Linked DNA regions of Homo sapiens: regions 1 and 3 are each linked to region 2. The links are contacts of gene promoters, found by promoter capture Hi-C in human tissues and cell types (Jung and others, 2019). All regions are on one chromosome and are shown on one strand. The core of a region is centred on a gene start or on the middle of the fragment in contact, and the rest is flanking DNA. Distances in the headings are between cores, read along the strand shown. Region 1 has its middle 88 kb from the start of LMX1B-DT. Region 2 holds the start of ZBTB43 (zinc finger and BTB domain containing 43). Region 3 overlaps MVB12B (multivesicular body subunit 12B).

Region 1 (4,347 bases), core at 323-2,822, 280 kb after region 2:
GGTACCCAGTGGGCAGAAGAGGGATCATCTCAAACATGCAGAGTGCCTGGGTACTGAGAGGGGTTAAAGGATAGTTGGAAAAGACAGAGAACAGAAAAAGACAGGGAGAGCCAAAAAGAAATACTAAGAGGAAGAAGAGAGACCCACGGAGATACTGTCATACCCTCTCACGTGCGCACACACGCGCAGAGACAGTGAGATTGCCTTTGAAGGCAGAGGGACAAGGCCTAATTGTCCCAGGGATGTGCACGGCGGCCTGGCTTTTCATCATTCCCAGAACTCTCTAATGAGGCTGTGGCCTCTCCTGGTGGGAACTTTGCTCCCTGAAATCAGCTTTGATAAAGGGGACAGACCGTCTGGGACGAGTTACTGGGTTTTCCTCTTTTCCTTTGAACCCTGTGGTGGTTTTGCTCTTTCATGGCAAACAGAGCAGGGACAAAGTCGCTGGCCTCTGTCCTCGGGCAATAGAGACCAGCCCACCTCCTGGGGCACCCAGGCGTGTGGGGCAGGGAGATGGCAGGCCCTGTGGGGGTGTCACTGGCCCAGGTCACTTTGCAGGGCTTGATATCCAGACCCACTTGCCCGTCACGATTGTTCTGCTGGTCCCCCAGTAGAAGCAAAACCTTGAATGCATCTCAGCAAATCGCAGCAGCCAGGAGGTCCCTCGCATCATGAGGGCACACAGGCTAACAACACTGATGACAAGAACACTGGCTGCTCACGGAGCACTCACTCCGCGTCAGGCTCTGAGCCAAGTATTTGACAAATGCTATTCATGGCAGTAGCAGCCCTGTGCCCCTTTTCCAGAAGAGCAAACAGAGGCTCCGAGAACTAGGTGGCTCACTGATCAGAGGCAAAATCGGACCGAATCTGTCATCCCTGGGCCCTGCTCTCAACCACTGGCCTTCCTGAAGGTGGGGGAGCCTTAGCTGGCCCCCTGGACATGGCAGTTTTCTAGCTGCACCATCCCTCTCTCGTTTCTCTTACCCATGACTGGGCTCTCTGTGAGGTCACAGCCATAAAGTCAGCAAGGCCTCAGCTCTAAGGTCTCTGGACACCTATCCCTACCTCACTCTCTATGCCCTGGAAGGATGCAGTGTCCAGAGGTCTCCCTGAGCCCCGGCTGTCCTGGGCAGCAGCTCTGGAAGGAATGGGGGGTGTGGAGTTAGCCACTCTGGGGCAGGAGGAGAGGAAAGGGCCTGGCTACCCCAGGAGGACCACCAGCCCGGTGGGACTTGTCTTTGATCTCCGATGATTAAAACAAACACCCTCTCCGGTGCTTCCTCCTTGTCCGAGGAGGCCTTCCTTCCTGGCCGGCAGACATTGAACGGCCAGGGAGAGGCTGCCTGGTCCCAGTCCCAGGGTCCTCATTTGGAAGTTGTCCTAGGGTCAAAGGCAGCTCCAGAATGCCCCGGCTCTGGCCTGCTCTCCATCTTCTGACCCCAGTTGCCTTCCTCCTGCCGTGATCCCAGCCTCCAGCTCCTGAGGCTTTTCTGCCAGGCTCCTCAGCCTCCTCCCGGCTACAGCTCGCTCATCCCCAGCTGCAGCCACCCGGGTCAGGCGGCAGGGGTGGCCAGGGTCCCATTCACTGCAGGCCATTCACCTCTTATCTCTAAAGTTGGCAGGCTATGAGGAATGACCTGAAATTTGTTCTAACTTGTAAAAGAGAGAACATTGGCTGTAAGCTTTAATTTACTCCGAGTGCCCGCTGCGTGTCAGGCCCTGGGTTGGTGCTGGGGAGACAGCAAGAGTGAAAGAGGTGTGGTCCTGCATTCATGGAAGGGTTTCTGGTTCTTGTTTTTTTTTTTTTTTTTCTTTTGAGAGAGCGTCTCACTCTCTCACCCAGGCTGGAGTATAGTGTCGTGGTTTTGGCTCACTGCAACCTCTGCCTCCCGTGTTCAAGCGATTCTCCTGCCTCAGCCTCCTGAGTAGCTGGGACTACAGGCACATGCCACCACACCTGGCTAATTTTTGCGTTTTTAGTAGAGATGGGGTTTCACCATATTGGTCAGGCTGGTCTCGAACTCCTGAGCTCCAGTGATTCACCCACCTCGGCCTCCTAAAGTGCTGGGATTACTGGCATAACCCACCTCACCCAGCCGGTTTCTGGTTCTTATGAGCAATGGATTCTGTGCCACACACTTCACAGCTGTTTGGGACACCACAGAGCACAGCTAGGCCATGAAGAGAGAGGGCTGGGGAGAGACCTTCTTGTTCAGTGTCTGGGGACAGCCCTCCTGTTTCTCTCTAGGGATGGCGTGTGGTGGGGAAGCCACCCTGGAGCAGCTTCATGCTCCCGTCCGAAAGAGCTCCTTCAGCAGCTCGCGGCTGAGCCACACGACGCCTCTGCTGGGAGGCAGGAAGTTGCATATTCCTGCCCGTGTACCCGGCAGAACGTTCTTTCCACGTCCTACCATTGACAAATCCTCTTGGACTTCCTGGTCACTTCATGATGACAGCGTGCAGAGGGAGAGCAGGTAATCAAAGGACGGCCATGATGAGGGCGAGGGGTTTTTCCTCCCAAATTTGTATGATGAAAATATCCAAACATACAGAAGAGTTGAAGGAAGAACAAGGAACACTCTCAGAGCCCATCCTAGAGCTGACGCGTAACCATGTCACACGCTTGCTTTATCTGTCTGTGTAGATACATCTCTAGAGCTATGTATTTTTTGCCGTAAGTTTGAAAGTAAGTTCCAGGCATCATCCCTAAATACTTTCGTGTGCTTTTCTAAGAATGAGGATATTCTCTAACCACAACACCATTATCATCTGAAGAAAATTAACAGTGATTTGAGACGGAGGGATTTTGGGAATTAGTCAAGGCGTAAGCGTTGAGACCTTCGTTAGATGAGGAGGTACTGTGTTGTATTACTGTTCGCAAAGCTTCCTTTGAGCTTGGTCCCCCTGCGGGGCAGCTGGAGAAAGATGGAATGACACTCCCATTCCAAAGTTTGAGATCTCCAGGGGAGCAGAGCACCACGCTAGTAGGGTAGGTGCTTGGGATGTGCACAGGGAACACGTCCCAGGCCAGAGGCCACCCCTGGGTCCCCCTTCATGCTCCTGGGCATAGAGGCTCCTGTTTTCCCAGTTCTGCCCCGTCCAGAGGAGAGGGGGGTGGAGCTTGGCAGGCAGATTGGATCTGGGCTGAATCTCTGTGAGACCTGGGCTGATTGGGCTTCCCCGCGACCAAGTCCTCAGCTCCCCTTGGGGTCACGGAAGCTAAGCTTGGGTGGGGAGATGTGGGGCCTTCCCAGGTGCTGAGCAACCCTTTTCTTTACCCTGTGGAGGGGACCTGGAGACAGGGACAGTGGAGGGGTTCAAGTGCCAAAATCTCCCCATCTCGACCCAGGGCTGAGATGGGTCCCTGGATCTTCCAGCTATGATGTCCCCAAGAATCTGCAAAATCTCCCACGACTCCTTCTGATGGGGGGTGTGCGTTGGGGCGTGCCCAGGTGAGAGCTGCAGATGGAGGCTGTGGGGTGACTGCATTTATCTGTGGGTGTGACCGAGCATCTCACAGGTCCAGGAGGGTGGTCCTCATATGTGCACAGAGACTGGAGGGGCGAGGGTGCATTTTGGTGCATGTATGGATGTCCCAAGAGCAGATCTGGGGTGTTCTCATGTCAGAATGTGGGTCTGTGCTCTGTGTAATGTTAGAAATAGGGCTTTGGGAACAGAATATTATTCAGCCTTAAAAAGGGGCAAAATTACAACACATGCTACAACACGGTGAACCTGGAGGATGTTATACTAAGTGAAATAAGCCAGTTACAAAAAGACAATGCAGAATGAATCCAGTTATATGAGGCATCTAGAGAAGTCAAGTTTATAGAGGCAGAAAATGGAATGGAGATTGCCAAGGGCTGGGGGACGGAGGAGTGGGGCGTTCTTACGTAGTGGGGACAGAGTTTCGGTTTTGCAAGATGAAATGAGTTCTAGAAATGAATGGGGTGATGATTGTACAACAACGTGAAGGTACTTAATGCTACCAAACTGTACTTTTAGATATGGTTAAGTGGGTGAATGTTGCATGATCTGTATTTTGCCACAGTGAGAAAAAAAAAGTGGGGTTCTGGTGGCCGTGACTGGCTGCCTTGTAAGGTTTCCTGTTTCTGAATGATGGTGACACCCACCCCGTCCCCATGTGACCTGCTTGCTCACTACTGTTTACCAGGAAAGCCAGAATATTGTCACTAGGAGAGAATGTTGTCAATCAGAGGAAATCTAACAGAGCCAGGGAGATGCTTTGGGGATCATACAAGTCTCAAACCCAAGACCCGTTTCTGGAAATGCTACCGTGTTCCAAGCAGATCTCACCAGCTAGGAATGGAAACAGAGGCATTC
Region 2 (3,892 bases), core at 118-2,617:
ACAACATTTGTCCTTTTGTGTGTGGTTTATTTCTCCCGTGGTGCTTTTATAAAGCAAATAATAAATTCCCAATTATTAGGTTTCTTATAATTTAACTGAAAATGCTGACACAATCTCTGAACTAAGCATGCAGTTATCCCAGAAACCCTGCTACTGTTCCAGTAGCCCCAAAGACCTCAGTCTGATCCTTTCTTAGCCTGTAGACAGGCCTGTTAAACAGCTGTAACTCAAAGAGCAGGCTCCAGAGATCCCTGGAGACCATCCTGTGGTGAGTGGATAGAGCGAAGGCATTTGGGAAGCTGTGCAGGCCTGAGAAACCACAGGCGAGAAAAGGAGAGGACTCATCAAGCTGCTCTGGCCCTAAAATGGGCCTCCTGTCTCCCTGACAGGCTCTCCTGCACTCTGACACTTATGTTGGGCGACACCTGTCAGAGTTGAGGCCAAACTGCGGTCGAGTCACTGAGAGTGTCACCAGTGCAGGGAACTTCACGGGGTCATGAGTCACCTTCCATGGCTCAGAGGTCTGGGCAGCCCTGCCCCACCCAAACTCAGGAAAGAGAGACAAGAGGCAAAAACAAAGTTGGCAGAAAGAGAGAAACAGACAGATGGCCAAAAAGCCAGACTGACAGGCCCTGAATTAGAGTAAGGGCTGAGTGGCAGAGACAGGGTGAACAGACACAGAAGCAAGGTGGAGACAGATATAAAACAGGATCCAGATACCCCGACAAAGACAAAGTGGAGAGAAATATCAGGTTGACAGCGACCTAGCTGAAAGACAAAAAGGGCAGGTTACAACAGGTGACAGAGACAGCAACAGGGGATGCTGAATGTTTTACTTAAACAGAAGATCAGCTAAGTCCAGGCGCAGTCTTTCTCCCAGCTCGGCTCGTCAGGCCTCAGGCATTGGTGGCTCGAACCCGAGGTCGTCAAGCCGCGCCCACCCTACGCCCCGAAAGGCCAGCGGACGGACGGGGGCGGGATCTCTAAGCGCTGTGGCCGGCGGAGCTCCGCCGCCGCGAGGGTGACCTTGGGCGAGAAGCTGCCCCAAAGGCCTCGGTATCGCGGTCTGCGCGCCGTGTGGGCAGAAGACTGCGGGATTCGGAGCTGGAGCGCCGGGACCCCAACCTCCCGCGCGGGGCTTTGGTATGCCGGTCCACGGAATGGGCCTGGCGGGGCCAGCGGCGCGAGCGTCGGGGCCTGCTGAGGAGCCCTTAACTCCCCCACCGACTTCTCCTCCCCTACCCTTGCCGCCCGTGGTCCTGGCCACGCAGTACCTGCCAAGGGCTCAGCGCTCACATCCCCCGCCCAAGATATCCTCTCTGCCGCCGGCGCAGGCCTGTTGTAGCCTCAGCTGCCGCAACAGATTCAGCCTGTGCCTTCAGCCCCCGGAAACGCTTCCCGGTCCCGCCCCCCGAAACTGACAGTGCTTCCGGGGGTGCGTCAGAGAGAAAGCGGAGTGCGCATGCGGGACTTACCGTCTGAGCTGGGCGTCGGGAGAGAGCGCGGAGGTAGCGGGCGCCTGCGCAGTACACTCTGGAGCGGGTCAATTTTAGGGACTGACTACGCTGTTGAAAATAGGGGAGCAGATACTGAGTTCTAAACCTTCTTGAAACCTTGGCATAGGCCAGGCGCGGTAGCCCACGTCTGTAATCCCTGCACTTTGGGAGGCCGAGAGGGGATGATCGCTTGAGGCTAGGAGTTCGAGACCATCCTGGCCAACATGGTGAAACCCTGTCTCTACAAAACATACAAAAATTAGCTGAGCGTGGTTGCGCGCGCCTGTAATCCCAGCTACTTGGGAAGCTGAGACAGGAGAATTGCCTGAACCCGTGAGGCAGAGGTTGCAGTGAGCCGAGATCACGCCGCTGCACTCCAGCCTGAGCACAGAGCAAGACTCTTAAACAACAACAACAACAACAACAAAACAAACAAAAACACCTTGACCTTCTCCGTCTCTTCTCTAAACAAACGAACGAAAACCTTGACCTCAGTATGCCTGGCGGAGATTATCTCCAAATCCGTTTCTGCCTTCACAGCACCCATCTCGCTTTTTGGCATGTAGTAGATGCTCAGTAAATGGTCAATGAAAGGACCAGTGCCTTTCCGTGGGCTGCATTGTGCTGGGCACTGGGGTCACACAGATGGTGGGACAGAAACGATCTCTCTAGCCTCCAATTCTCCCACTCCCTCCCAAAACCTCCATACCTCTTCTCGCCCCTTTCTTCCCCACTGCCCCCCCATGTTAGTGTAGAAGAGAGATAGGTCTTTAGCGGTGGGACTCTTACCTTTGGACCCGTTTACAGACCAAGTGCCCTCTTTGTAGAAGAACTAATTTATACCTGAAATCCAGGCAGCTGAAGCGATGTGGTCATAATGCCTTCTGGATTTAGGGTGGATGTTCTCGTGGGGCCTGACATGCCTGTTTGATATTGTCTGTCTCAGTTTAAGCTGATTGGTTTCCCAGCTGTTATGCCTGTCTTGCTTGTTGTTGGGCCCTAGGACACAGGAGTGTAGCTTTCCTAGAGAATTCTACCAAAAAAATTTTTTTTTCTAGAAAACAAAATGAAAGAAAACAAATATGGAAGCACAGAAATGGGAGTGGATGCAGAACAGCTTGTCAAAGATTCTACTTCAAACATGTATGCTCCAGCTCCCCCGCCTTGTGGTTTTGTTTTGTTTTGTTTTGTTTTTTTTTGGAGACGAATTCTTGCTCTGTTGCCCAGGCTGGAATGCAGTGGCACAATCTTGGCTCACTGCAACCTCCGCCTCCCAGGTTCAAACGATTCTCCTGCCTCAGCCTCCCGAGTAGCTGAGACTACAGGTGCATGCCACCATGCCTGGCTAATTTTTGTATTTTTAGTAGAGACGGGGTTTCACCATCTTGGCCAGGCTGGTCTCAAACTCCTGACCTCATGATCCAACCGCCTCGGCCTCCCAAAGTGCTGGGATTACAGGCGTGAGCAACTGCACCCAGCCTAGTTGAGTATACTCTTTAAGTGTTTTGCCACTTTTATTCCTGCCTCTAAGCAGACCTGAAGTTTGGAAGTTCAACTGCCATCATGTGCCTATGAAGTGGTAAGTAAATGCTAAGGCTGGCAAAGCAGGAAGATTGAGAGAACCTAGGTCCCATATGACATTAGGCCACAGTTCCAGCTTTGGACACCCTTAAGTGTTTTGTTGCATGAGCCAAATAAACTTCTTACTTGGACTTTATTTCTGGCAATATTGAGGACTATATATTTACAAATATTACTACAACAAAATATATAAAATTGCTAGAAGAAATATTTAGAATACCCTCTTAAACGCATGGATACACTTGCAAAAAAAAAGTCAGGAAAATTATCTGAAGCTAGGAGGAAAACAAGAACACAAGCCTGGGAAGTCAAACAATTGATGTTCAGAAATTATGCAGAGGTACCGTCTGCATCTGTTCCGATCCATTGGTGCATGTCCTGTACTGACAAATATTTTCAAAATTATCTCTGGAGATAGGTAAACACTGATACTGCTACCAGCTATAGGAGCGTTCACCTGGGTCCAGGCAGGATAAGAGTCAAATTGCAACATCAGGTTGGAACTCACGAAGAAATATGTCCTCAGGTGAAGGATAAACTATGGTGGAAAAAATCTGCCGTACAGAGGTGCAGCAATTAAAGATGTCTCTCTGTGCCTTGGTTCTGAGCAGAAGGGGAAAACATTCCCCTGGAGGATTCATGGCCAAAAAGTCTGGCTATCAAATGGACACACAATTTGCATAGTTCAAAAGCCCGCAATCGCTTTAATTTGAAATGAACCTGGGTAGGTGGTGCCTACAGTATTTGGCCAAAACAAACACAGATCTTCTCTGGAAGAGCTCACTGGCAACCCAGGTTTCAAAGAATTCCCACAG
Region 3 (4,144 bases), core at 854-3,353, 470 kb after region 2:
TAATATAATTTCAGTGCCAGGCAAATGGGGGCCCCTGCCAGAATCATCAGAACACCTGTCTTCAGGCCAGCCAGGCCACCACACCCCTCTCTGACTTTCACATGGGTCTTGAGAATTTTTTTTCATATATTTGGTCATCTAATCATTCTACCCATATGCTAATGACTTCCAAAATACCTCAAACCCAGGCTTTTCTCCTGAGACTCAGAGGTATCTGTCTCGCGTCTTTGCCCACATGGCTCAGGAATACCTCAAATTCAGCTGACCTTGCCATCTTCCCCCTGAAGCATCCTCCTACATTCCCGGTCTCTAAGAGGGCCTGGCGCGTGAACAGTGAGTCCACAGATGACTACGGAGCCACTTGGGCTAAGCACTGAGGCTACAGTAATGAGACGGAAAGTCCACATTCTGGAGTGGGAGTTATCCAACTTTAGCATGTGCAAAAATCACCAGAAGAGGTCGTTAAAACGGACATTCCTGAACCCCACCCCCTGAGATACTGATGCAGTAGGCCTGAGCTGGTCTAAGAACATGCATTTGTAACAGCTCCCAGCTGACACTAAAACAGCTGGTCTACAGTCCAAAATTTAAGTACAAGAGAGCAGGTATTCATCAGGTATTTGATGAACGAATGGATGGATGGATGGATGGATGGATGGATGGATGGATGGATGGAATGAACCTAAAGGTAATCTTCCATGGAGAAAAGCCTCAGAATCAGCCCTCCAGTCTCCCCCTCCTTCCTCTTGACAGTTCACCCAAGGGCACCAGGTTCCTCCCCTGCAGATACCCACCCCACCATTTAAAACCAGGGTCACACACGGGCATGGTGGCTCACGCCTGTAATCCCAGCACTCTGAGGCCAAGGTGGGCAGATCACTTGAGGTCAGGAGTTTGAGACCAGCCTGGCCAACATGGCAAAACCGCATCTCTACTAAAAATACAAAAATTAGCTGGGTGTGGTGGTGGTGCCTGTAATCCCAGCTACTCGAGAGGGTGAGGCACAAGAATCGCTTAAACCCAGGAGGTGGAGGTTGCAGTGAGCTGAGATGGTGCCACTGCACTCCAGGCTGGGTGACAGAGCCAGACCTCATCTCAAAAAAATAAATAAGTAAATAAATAAAACCAGGGTCATGGCCAGGCGCAGTGGCTCACGCCTGTAATCCCAGCACCTTGGGAGTCCGAGGCGGACAGATCACAAGGTCAGGAGTTCGAGACCAGCCTGGCCCATATGGTGAAATCCTGTCTTTACTAAAAATACAAAAATTAGCCAGGCATGGTGGCACGCACCTGTAGTCCCACCTACTCGGGAGGCTGAGGCAGAAGAATCACTTGAACCTGGGTGGCGGAGGTTGCAGTGAGCCAAGATTGCACCACTGCACTCTAGCCTGGGTGACAGAGTGAGAGTCTGTCTCAAAAAAAAACAAAACAAAACACCAGGGTCACATCTTCCATTCCCCTCAAACTTTCTCCAATTTCCCAGTCAGACAGGTGCCACCACTCAGAATCCTGACATCATGCAAGCACGTAGTCTTAGCACACGTATGTGCACACATGCACTCGTGCACACATACACATACACACACAGCCTTTCCTCTCAGAAGGCTAGAACATGCTTTCCCTAGCAGACCGTAAGTTACTCAAAGGTGTGTTATGTCCACCACAATGCCCAGCTTATGGTGGGTGCTCAATAAATGGATTATGAATGAATGGGGGAAGGATAAACAAACAAAATTCCTATCCTCTCAAAATTGCCAAGTTTCACTGGATTAAGGAGGGCACATAAAGGGGAGAGGGCACATAAAGGGGTGGGGCCACATAAAGGGGCAGGGGCACATAAAGGGGCGGGGGAACAGCAGAGCTGTCAGACCCCTTCCAGTGAAAGCCCGGGGTCTGGGGTCACTGATTCCTCCATACAGGACACACACCATGACCCCAGGGGTGAGCCACTTACAGAGGACGGGGGAAGGGACTGCAGCACTTCCAGGGAGTTCCAGATTTAGATCTAACTCAGTGCAGCCAGGCTGGATGTGGGCCTGTCAGGGGCCAGTGGGTGCCCAGGCTGGCTGCAGGAAGAATGCCCCGGAGAGCTTGTAGAAGCACAGCTTTCCCATTCCCTATCCTCAGGTTCTCATTTAATTGGTTCAGGCTGGGACTGAGACTGGAGAGTGCACAGCCAAGGAGAAGCTCCACAGTGCTGGGTGATAGAGCAATGAATAAGACATGGAACTCACAGGCTGTGGGAAATATCCCAAGAGAAAGGGACTGCAAAGGAGGGGACTCTTCCTTCTGCCTGGTGACGCAGGGAAAGGTGAGCAAAGAACTGGCCTCCCTGAAAGACGGGGGTGTGTGAAGTGGTGAAAGTCTTGCAAGCAGATGACACAGCCTCAACAAAGGCACCGTGGTGTGAACACACAGGGACTGCTCGGGGAACTGCAAGGAGCAGATGGGCTCTGAAACAAGCTTATAAAATGCTTAAGAAAACAAATAAACAAAACACAATCAAACTGAACTAAAAAACCTGTCTGCACTTCTCTGCTGTTTCTGAGATCTAAGCAATGATGTTGAGCTACAGGAAGGGGCACCCCAGTGGTCTAATGGAAGAGATTCCCAGGCCTTCCGTTCATACTTCCCCACCTGCAACTGAACATTTCTCCAACCAACGCCCCTTCCTTCAGACCCCCATGGGGCCTCCTTATGCTATTAGCTCTAAGGGGGGAAAGTCAGGCAGAGCAGAGGAATGGGATGGGTGCCCCCTTTGGAGTCCAAGGGACCCGAGCTTGAATTCCAGCTCTGACACTTACTGTACAACCTTAGGCAAGTTAAACTAAACTGGGCCTGAGTTTCCATCCCTATAAAACCGGAATAGCAAATAATATTGTTTCTACAGGGTTATAATGTGTAGAAAGCATCAAGAATTTGCAGCAAAAGGCAATCAACAGAGTAAAAAGGCAACCTATGGAATGGGAGGAAATATTTGCAAATCATGTATCTGATGAGGAGTTAATATGTGGATCTATAAAAAACTCCTACAAATCAACAACAAAAAAACAAATTCCTTAATTTAAAAATGGGCAAAGGACTTGAATAACAAGTCTTTCCAAAGACAATATACGAATAGCCAACCAGCACCCAAAAAGATGCTCAACATCACTTGCCACTAGGGAAATGCAAATCCAAATGACATCTCACCTTATACTCATTACGATGGCTACTACCAAAAACAAACAAACATACAAACAAAATAACTGTTCGCAAGCATGTGAAGAGATTGGAAACTCTGGCACACTGCTGGTGGGAATGTAAAATGGCACAGCCACTATGTTATGGAAAACAGTGTGGTGGTTCCGCAGAAAATTATAAATAGAATTACCATATGATCCAGCAATTCCACTTCTGGGTATCTACACAAAAGAATTTAAATCGGGGTCTCAAAGAGAATTGTAGACCCATGTTCAGAGCAACATTATTCACAATAGCCAAAAGACAGAAGCAACCCAAGCATCCATCTATGGATGAATGAACAAAATATGGTCCACATATTCAATGGAGTATTATTCAGCCTTAAAAAGGAAGGAAATTCTGAAATATGCTACAACATGATGAACCTTGAGGACAGTATGCTAAACTAAACAAGCCAGTCACAAAAAGACAAATACTGTATGATCCACTAGGATCACACAGTTTGACTACCTAGGGTAGTCAAACTCACAGAAACACAAAGCAGAATGGTGGTTGCCAGGGGTCAGGAAAGGGGGAAATGCAAAGTTGTTTTATGAGCACAGCGTTTCGGTTTTGCAAGATGAAAAGTTCTGGAGCTTAGTTGCACCACAGTGTGAATGTGCATAATGCCACCGATCTGTGCACTTAAAGATGAGTAGGATGGTCAATTTTATGTTACGTGTATTTAACACTTTTTTAGAAAGCATCAAGAACTGTAGGTCTCTAATTTCAGTAAGAAGAAGTATAACCCAAGGTGTCTGTTAAGACTGCAGATTCCAGGTCCCGTTCCCCAGAGATTCTGACTCAATAAAGTCTGAGTATGAGGTCCTAGAATCTGCATTTTCATCAACACCACAGGCATATTTAGTGCATTACAAACTCATTTATTTCTCTCTTCTAAAGGATCAGGGGATATTCTTTT

The links. The method cuts DNA at HindIII sites, captures the fragments that hold promoters and counts their contacts. A contact is called where the count stands out against the background at its distance.
Region 1: a contact is called between a fragment that was not itself captured here and the fragment with the promoter of ZBTB43 in region 2, in 3 of the 25 tissues and cell types used here (IMR-90 fibroblasts, dorsolateral prefrontal cortex and liver).
Region 3: a contact is called between a fragment that was not itself captured here and the fragment with the promoter of ZBTB43 in region 2, in 1 of the 25 tissues and cell types used here (H1 embryonic stem cells).

Annotation. Positions count from the first base shown.
Region 1 is chr9:126,523,613-126,527,959 of GRCh38, reverse strand. No RefSeq gene overlaps it. Among named protein-coding and RNA genes, the nearest start is that of LMX1B-DT, 88 kb to the left of the region's middle. The HindIII fragment of the contact is 6,412 bases long and covers 1-4,347 here.
Region 2 is chr9:126,802,515-126,806,406 of GRCh38, reverse strand. It overlaps ZBTB43 (zinc finger and BTB domain containing 43), which reads right to left and starts at 1,367. Exons shown (of 3, transcript NM_014007.4): 1 at 1,275-1,367. RefSeq lists enhancers at 193-342, 493-602, 1,013-1,072, 1,140-1,641 and a silencer at 1,703-1,752. The HindIII fragment of the contact is 16,594 bases long and covers 1-3,892 here.
Region 3 is chr9:126,330,376-126,334,519 of GRCh38, reverse strand. The region is part of intron 1 of MVB12B (multivesicular body subunit 12B); the gene reads right to left. Among named protein-coding and RNA genes, the nearest start is that of MVB12B, 5.6 kb to the right of the region's middle. The HindIII fragment of the contact is 4,706 bases long and covers 1-4,144 here.